Regions from separate parts of the Homo sapiens genome. Here region 2 is linked to region 1. The links are contacts of gene promoters, found by promoter capture Hi-C in human tissues and cell types (Jung and others, 2019). All regions are on one chromosome and are shown on one strand. Each heading gives the region's core, a stretch centred on a gene start or on the middle of the fragment in contact. The rest is flanking DNA. Distances are from core to core; before and after follow the strand shown.

Region 1 (3,946 bases), core at 544-3,043:
GTTTCATGTTCTTGCACCTCATGAATGAGGTCGTGATAGCTGTGGTGGCAATCTCTGAAATTCTTCCCAGAACTCAATCCTTAAGAACCAGGAGTATAGTTTATAATTAAAGTGAAAATTTATTTTAGAAAGTTCAATTTTAGAATCTATAAAATAAAAAACAAAAACCCCAAGCCTACGTAAGTAATTTTAACGTAAAATGTTAATGGCCCCAAACTCTAATGGTGGAATAAGGACAATAACATGAAGTATATGATATTTGAGATAAAATATAGCTATTTAAGAAAAGCTTCTTACTCTCCTTGAGCCTTCATCTATAAAATAAGGATAATAAAACTGTGTCATTGTGTTACTGCAAAGATTGATTAAATAGATACGTATAAGATGCCTAGGTTATGGCCATTTTTTATATTTAACAAATTCCTAATTCTTTCTTGTTTCTACAACTGTACTAAATTATTTTAATAGCTGCAAAAGTATTTTAACATATTGACTAACCATTTCTCTGTTGCTAGACATTTGGACTGTTTTCAATGGTTTGGTATCTCTTCGTATATAAATTTCAGAAGACATTCGGACCTCCTGTAAAGGCCAGGTAATACATATTTTGGGGCTTCTGGGACCACATAAGGTCTCTGTTGCATATTCTTTTAAAAAATTTCTTGTTTTCTTTTAACAACCCTTCTCAAATACAAAAACCATTAGCATGAGGGCTGTGTAAAAACAGGCCACAGACTAGAGCTGGCCCTCCAACAGCAATTTGCTTAGCCCTTAATTGAGAGTTTTTAACCAGTCTGGGCCTCTTTGGAAGTTCACTCTAAAGGCATAATCTCAATTTTAGAAGCTGGCAACACCCAAGAGAGCAATTGTTAGTCTCTAGTCCCATGGATGTGGTGTTCTTCAGATTCCTCTGCCAATATTTTTCTTGTTAGGAAAGCATGATGTGAAAGTGGTGACAGGATGGAGAATGACAATGGCCAGTGTATGTGAGTTTTTGTCTAAGCTAATTCTTATGCAAGACACCGGCTGAAACAGGTGAGGAGCACTTTTCACGTGCTATCTTCCAGAAATGAATTCAATCTGTAAATAACTGAGATGTCTTCACAGCTCTTGGGTAATTTTTGTCTGTAGCAATAAGAAACTTTATCTCTATTAAAGTTAGGAAGGGGTTAGGATCCAGTAATGAATGAAATGAGAACTTAAGTTGCAACTCAGTTTCTGTACTTACTTGTGATCTAGCATTAAACACAGTGCCAGGCACGAAATAGGTGGTGAGAAATAAGAAAATGATAGAGCTATTTGCTCTAATGGTTAGAGGCAATGATGGTCAGCTTTGAGTTACTTTGGTGACCCCGCAGGGAGGAAGAGCACAGGTGGAACATTAGAATCTCTTTCAGGAAAAGGATGCCGCTGGATCCATCAGGTCCAGTAGCACTGCCCATTTCTCCTGCTCCAAGGCATCTGCCCTCGAAAGCCCCCAGGCCACACCCGAGGACACCACCCAGGGTTCTAGGACACCTCGAGGGCGGACGTGGTTTGGCTCTCGGTCCAGCTGGACCGGGCTGGGCCAACCGGGAGTCAGCTCGAACTCACCTGCTTGGCAGGTGCGCGCTTCCCGAGGCGTGACAAGGGAGCGCCGGCGCGGTGGGTGGGGGGCAGAGAATGTGAAGCTCCAGACGCATGGCACCCGCCGCCAAGTCGCCGCGGTGGCTGCCGGGATGCGCCGCAGCGAATGGTCGCGCCGGGCGCCGCTCTGAGTGACCTTTCACCCGCGCCCAGCGGTTCCGGGCGGCAGCACAAGGCGGTAGCCATGGCGGAGGCGGCGGCTGCAGCGGGTGGGACTGGCTTGGGCGCGGGCGCGAGCTACGGGTCTGCAGCGGACCGGGACCGGGACCCGGACCCGGACCGCGCCGGGCGGAGGCTGCGGGTTCTCTCTGGCCATCTGCTGGGCCGGCCCCGGGAGGCTCTGAGTACCAATGAGTGCAAAGCGCGGAGAGCCGCGTCGGCGGCCACGGCAGCGCCCACGGCCACTCCCGCCGCGCAGGAGTCGGGCACCATCCCAAAGAAGCGGTGAGTAGCGGTATGTGGAAGGAGTTAGCGTCGAGGGACCAGGCCGGGCCTGTGCTGCAGGAGGGCACAGGCGAGGTGGGAAGGGAAGTGACACGGGTGGGCGGAAGGCATCCCGGTCCCTGAAAGTAGGGACCCACCTCTCTTTCGAGAGAGTGGACTAGACCCTGGATTCTGTCAGGAAGGGGGCGGGATGGGATGGTGGATTTTGGTCACTATGTGAGGGTAACAGGCTTGAAGAACTCTCGTTGGAGAAGGGTTTAAAGGATTCCTTTTTCCTGAGCTTTTAGTGCCAGGAATTCATTTTTTATCTTGAATTAATACTTTTGGTGCTGAGGTCTTGGAATGGGTAGCAGAGGTTCTATTTTTCTCCGAGGAGATATAAATTTGTACTAGATGATAGATCATAGGAATCTCTCTCATTCGCGAAAGCCTGCTGTGGGGGAAACTGGTGGTGCCCTGGAAAAAGGTGCTGACTGGTTTCTGTGGGGTAAGTTCCACTTGCTTAGGATCAAGATGTATTGACTTTGAGGGAGGAAACCGATGAATGGTAAGAAGCCATAAACTGCAAACACTAGCTAGTGGTTTAAGGTGTGGTGGTATAGCTACTGAGCTCTGTGTAACCAGAAGCTAAAAGACAAGAGTCTAACCGATGAGGGATGTTTGTAAGAGATCTTGACTTTCGATGTTTTTGGAGAAATCTTTTTTTTTTTTTTTGTATTTTTAGTAGAGACAGGGTTTCACCGTGTTAGCCAGGATGGTCTCGATCTCCTCAATCTCTGATGAAGGCTATTAGGAGAAGCTACTTTCTGACGTGTGGCTTTGTCACCGTGGATAAATGGATAAACCGAGAGTGAAAAAAATAAGTAGCTAATGTTTAAAGTGTACTTTTAAGTGTGCCAAAGTGTGCTAAATCCTTTGTTTCTTCCCAAGCTATGAGGTATGTGCGGTTTTCTCCCATTTTACAGATGAATAAATTAAGTCTGCTGGAGTCTTAGCAGATATGCTGTGTGACAGGTTAGAATTTGAAAGCACATCAAATTGACTTCATGGCCAAGTTCCTAAGCTATACTTGCTTCTGATGAATTAATTCAACATACATGAGTCTTTACAAAATACACACTGTACCAGCAATACAGAAATTTAAAAATACGGTATTTACTCTTAAGGAAGGAATAGCTTAGTAGGTAAAATTATAATACAGCGTTATAAGAAACTTAACTGGGAACTATACCACCTGGTCATTTAACCCAGTTTTGGGTTTGTGTTTGTTAGTGCAAAGATGTTCCAAAGTAAAGATTGTCTGAGTAAATTTTGGATGTTTGCATTACTAATAGTTTGCCAAAGGGGGAAATTGTTCTTGGCATACAAACAGTATGTTCACAGGTAAAGAAGTGAGAGACAAATTAGGGAACTGCTGAGACTCAAGTGTAGTAGGAGAGGGTGAGAATGACAGGGGACGAAGACTGGAGAGGTGAATCTTGTTTACAGGATTTTACGTGGGGCAATACATGATTAGATTTACCTTTGATAAAGGTCACACTGGGAGCAAATTGAAGACAGTTGAGCATTTTGGCAGTATAATGGCTGGGAACATAGACCTGGATTTCAATTTCCACTACACCGTTACAGCTCTATGATCTTGGGCAAATCACTTAACCTCTGAGAGTTTCAGTCACCGTCATTTGTAAAAACGGGAACAGTAATCCTGTTTTGCAGTGTTGCTGTGAGAATTGAAAAAAATAGAGTTAAATGATCAAGTGTTTAGTGCAATGCCTGTTACATAACCTTTCAAAGAATGGTAGCTGCAATTTTCACAGTGTCTAAAGGCAGAGAGACTAGGAGACTATTATTCCAGGGAGAAATGCTGGGATTCTGA
Region 2 (3,946 bases), core at 798-3,297, 200 kb after region 1:
TTGAGGTGGTTCCCAAGTTTGGTTGGCTTCCTAGAAGTTGAAAGCCTTATTTCTCTGAGCACATTTCCCTTTAATCACTGTGCTTTCCAGAGACCCAGGCTTCAGCTGTATCCAGCACAAAACAATTTGGGTACAAGCCACAAAGAGGACTCTAACAGCATGCATAAAGACTCCAACTCCCTGAAATTGATGTTTTTCTTCTCATCACTGCCATTCCCACACATGCCTATAACATGGATTTGAAATGGCCTGTTTGTATAAAGACTGCACACTGTTTCAAGCCATCACAACAATGGATAAGAAGCATTTACACTATCATTTTTAATGCAAAAGACAGAGTTACCCTAAGCCACGCTGCTATTAGCTTTGAATGTTTTTTGTCAGGGTGCAGTCTGCTGTGCATGAGACCAAGATGAAATGCCATTCCAGGTGACTCCGTGACCCTATGTGAGTATGTGTGTTTAGGCACCTGTTTAAAACATAACCACAGGCCAACATACCTTTTTTGAAGCACATGGATATCATTACTACACTTGAATTTTGGGTTGGAAGGAAATACAGCAGTTAACCACCTGAAATCTCAGTAAACAAAATAAGAATACCATCAAGTTTTACAACTGTGGGACAGAAGATTGCCAAATATAGGTTCCATTTAAAAAATTAGGAACTAAGTTATGTTACATACTTGAGTATTTTTGTCACAGAGTTATTACCTGTAACTAGAAGATTCCATTTCTACTAAGAAGTGGAGTAATAAATGGAAAAACATCAGTTGCTGTACCTTTGATTCCAATCCCATTGTATTCAGACAATGCAATGAATTTCTCACAAGCTTTTAATATGTAAAAACAATGCACTGGTATTCCTAATATTTTAAATGTATGTTGCTTGTCTTTTGCTAGTGGCAAAGAGGACCAGCATTAAGATGTCTGTTCATCAATTTCTTGATGTCTGCCCATCAGTTTCTCTCTCGATCAGGTGCTCCACCAGACTCAATTTAATGGAGGAAATCTCATTTGGGTCCTGGAAAGATTAAAGCACCTTACCCTTTACTTCCAAATTGAGTTCCTCTGGGAATCAACTTGAGATCCAGAAGTCTTGAATGAAACCAAATGCTTTGGGAGATAGTTTGCATTGCCTTAAAGTTTGCTCTCTGGAGGACTGTAGACACCGCAAACGGCCTTCTGTACTGTGTTCGGCTACTGTAGTCAATGTACTGAGAAACTCTTAATATTCCTAGGGCTTCCTAAATGGCCTAGAAATAAAGCTAACAGAAGAGGGCAATATATTTCACATAACTAACTTAACAGCATACCCAAAGTTATTTCTTTTCAAATAGCTCATGAAAGGACCTGGTCAGAATTTTGGTGGCAATAGAAATACCTGAACATGAATCCATCAGCTGCCCTTTAAATCTCCAGACTTTGAGTCTATTAAGAATGAAACACCACCCTGGAGGCTACAACCTTTACAAGGTCTGTGTTTCTTCTCCAAAAAATAAAAAGAACAAAGTCACCACTCTCCTCTCTCAACTGGAGGAAAACTCAGTAGAAACTCAACACTCTTTTTCAGTGAGAAATACCTGATGTCATATATTTTGTTTAATAAAGACTGAATTGGCTGTACACTAAGCCGATTTAAGAATGTGATCTGCAACTCATAGTCTTAATTACATGGAAAAAAAAGTGAATGAGTTCATTAATGCTGTAAAAAGGAATAGTGACCCTACCTGCCAAGTAGCAAGGTGGAAATAATTAATCTGGTCAATTAAAAAGAAACAGATAATTTAAAACACAAAGGCTTCCAGGTGGGGCACTGCATTCTGCTCTCTGGAACTGCGACTTCTTATTGTCGATTTTGGTTTTCTCAGTAAGTTTTCTTTGTTCTTTCCTTAAAATTTTTTTTTTTCGTCATGGATCAAATCAAATAGAAAAATCTGTCTGAGCTACAAAGCATGACTTGTTGCATTATGTCTTATGTCCTAAAATGTTGATTGATGCTAACTAACATACACTCTGGAAGTGCTCTGGCGGGGGCAGCGGGGGGTGGGTGGGGGAAGGGGTTACCAAGTTCCAGTATCATATCCAAGATTCTTTTCTCTCTTGGTGGGAGTCTGTTATATCTTACTTTCCCTTCAAAATTGTTTGCCTTTCCTGGGGTTTTAATAATATTTTTAAAGTGCTGGAGTCTGAGCCGCACTGTCTGGCTTATCTAATCCCATTTATGATCCTATAACCTTGAAGCTTGCCATGGCCTGGCTGTCAGCACCAGATTCTAAATACATGGGGCAGTGTGTTTGCTCCATGGAACAGGAAATTAGTCAAACAGTTACTTTTCTACAAATGTTCATAATTTCTCTTGACATTTACAAGCCAGTAGTAGTTCTTAGACATCGAATGATCTCAAGCCCCTCAGGGAGCAGTGAGTGGTTATCTATAACACTGCCCTGTGCAGATATTTGTGCAGAGCGTCAGTGCACTCCATTCCATTGCAGCAGAAAGATTGAGCACCGTCACCCAGCGCTGGTCCAGTCTATCTGTGCACTGCAGGTACAAGGAAAAAAGAACGTGTTAGTACTTTAATCCTTTTCAGCTGGTCCAAGCCCGGTCTCAGGACAAATATTAATATCATTTTCATTTTAACCATGGCAAAGGTTGAATAAAGCAGCATCCAATTTTTTCAATCTGCTCAAGAGAAAACTGTTTTCGTGGTGAAAGTTTGACTGCAAAATTCTGGTTGCTAAGGAGGAAAAACCTCATCTAAGAAAACAAATGTTGCTGTGGTGAAATGCGATTTGAAAGTCTGTATTTCCTAGGTGTTAGACTTGGCAAGTTAGAAATAGTGAGGGTGGAGAAAGGATGCTTTCCGTGGATGTGCTCAAACACAGTAGTACATATTGTCAGCTCTGCAGGAGGCGTGCTGTGGCCATATGTGTGTTGCGGAGTGAAATGGAATAAACAGCTGCTGCCAGGAATCCAATTCCTGGCAAGGAGGCAAACCCAAGTCCTCCTGTTTCCAAAATAAAAATCACCAGAGGGATTCCCCTTACAGCAGTTCCAGCCAGTAGTTTTATAAAAGCATAAAACATCAGTGTATTGTGGTTTATAATAATCCCTTACATTTGTAAAGCATTTTACAGTTTATAAAGTGCTTTACATACATTATCTCATTTGAGCCTCATAACAGCTCTGGAGAGTACTAGGCAAAATATTGAGATTCTCTTTTCACAGATGGAAAAAGGAAGGTTCAAAGAATGAAATGGTGAACCTGGTGCCCCAGCCTACAGCCATCCAGGCAGAGACATCCAGGGGCTACACTGGGGGCCTTGGGGACCCAGTAAAGGGATTAGTTTTTGTGTAGTTGAGGTGCAAAAGCAATTTTACTTCTCTTTGTGCAAGCATCAGCTTGCTCTATCAAAGGGCTTCTCCCACACTTTTTGAAGCAGCAAGGGAAGAAAGTAAGTTGTAAGGGAGCAAGTGGCAAGGGGAAAAGGTACTCAGCATACTGAGTGCAGAATCTAGTTTGCCCTTGATGGTAGTCAAGGCTATTTCAGTTTCAGCACGTACTGCAGAGATCAGCCAGGGTCACCTCAGAACTGCCTGGAGGAAGCAGCTTTGATACTGTTCAATTGTTCTCAGACACTGCCACCTTTGTTCACCCTTTGCAGAAAAACAGGCTTTTTTCCTAGAACTGCCAGCCTTGTGGTCATGTGAAGGCAGATTTATAGGAAGAACCTACATAGCCTTTTATGAAGAAACCCCCTCTGACCTTAGGAATTGGTGAGATGCAGAATTGTCCTATTCTGTGAGACAGGGGACATCACAGGTAGATGCTGTGGTGGCCCTGTTGTGGGCTGCTTTAGTCCTGAAATAGGAAACTGCTCTCTGGTAGAGACATAGAGACTTCTCTGACATGTACCTGGTTACCTGATCAGGTCTCAGTGGGC

What was found. Contacts are between HindIII fragments. The study calls those that stand out against the background at their distance.
Region 2: a fragment that was not itself captured here is called in contact with the fragment with the promoter of AGPS in region 1 in 1 of the 25 tissues and cell types used here (hippocampus).

Annotation. Positions count from the first base shown.
Region 1 is chr2:177,390,980-177,394,925 of GRCh38, forward strand. It overlaps AGPS (alkylglycerone phosphate synthase), which reads left to right and starts at 1,794. Exons shown (of 20, transcript NM_003659.4): 1 at 1,794-2,070. The coding sequence starts at 1,811. It overlaps LOC100130691 (Putative uncharacterized protein FLJ44553), which reads right to left and starts at 1,712. Exons shown (of 9, transcript NR_026966.1): 1 at 1,594-1,712. RefSeq lists silencers at 1,794-2,013, 3,222-3,516. The HindIII fragment of the contact is 5,797 bases long and covers 1-3,946 here.
Region 2 is chr2:177,595,591-177,599,536 of GRCh38, forward strand. It overlaps LOC124906098 (a long non-coding RNA gene), which reads right to left. Exons shown (of 3, transcript XR_007087317.1): 3 at 818-2,543. Among named protein-coding and RNA genes, the nearest start is that of IFT70A-AS1, 5.5 kb to the right of the region's middle. The HindIII fragment of the contact is 5,513 bases long and covers 1-3,946 here.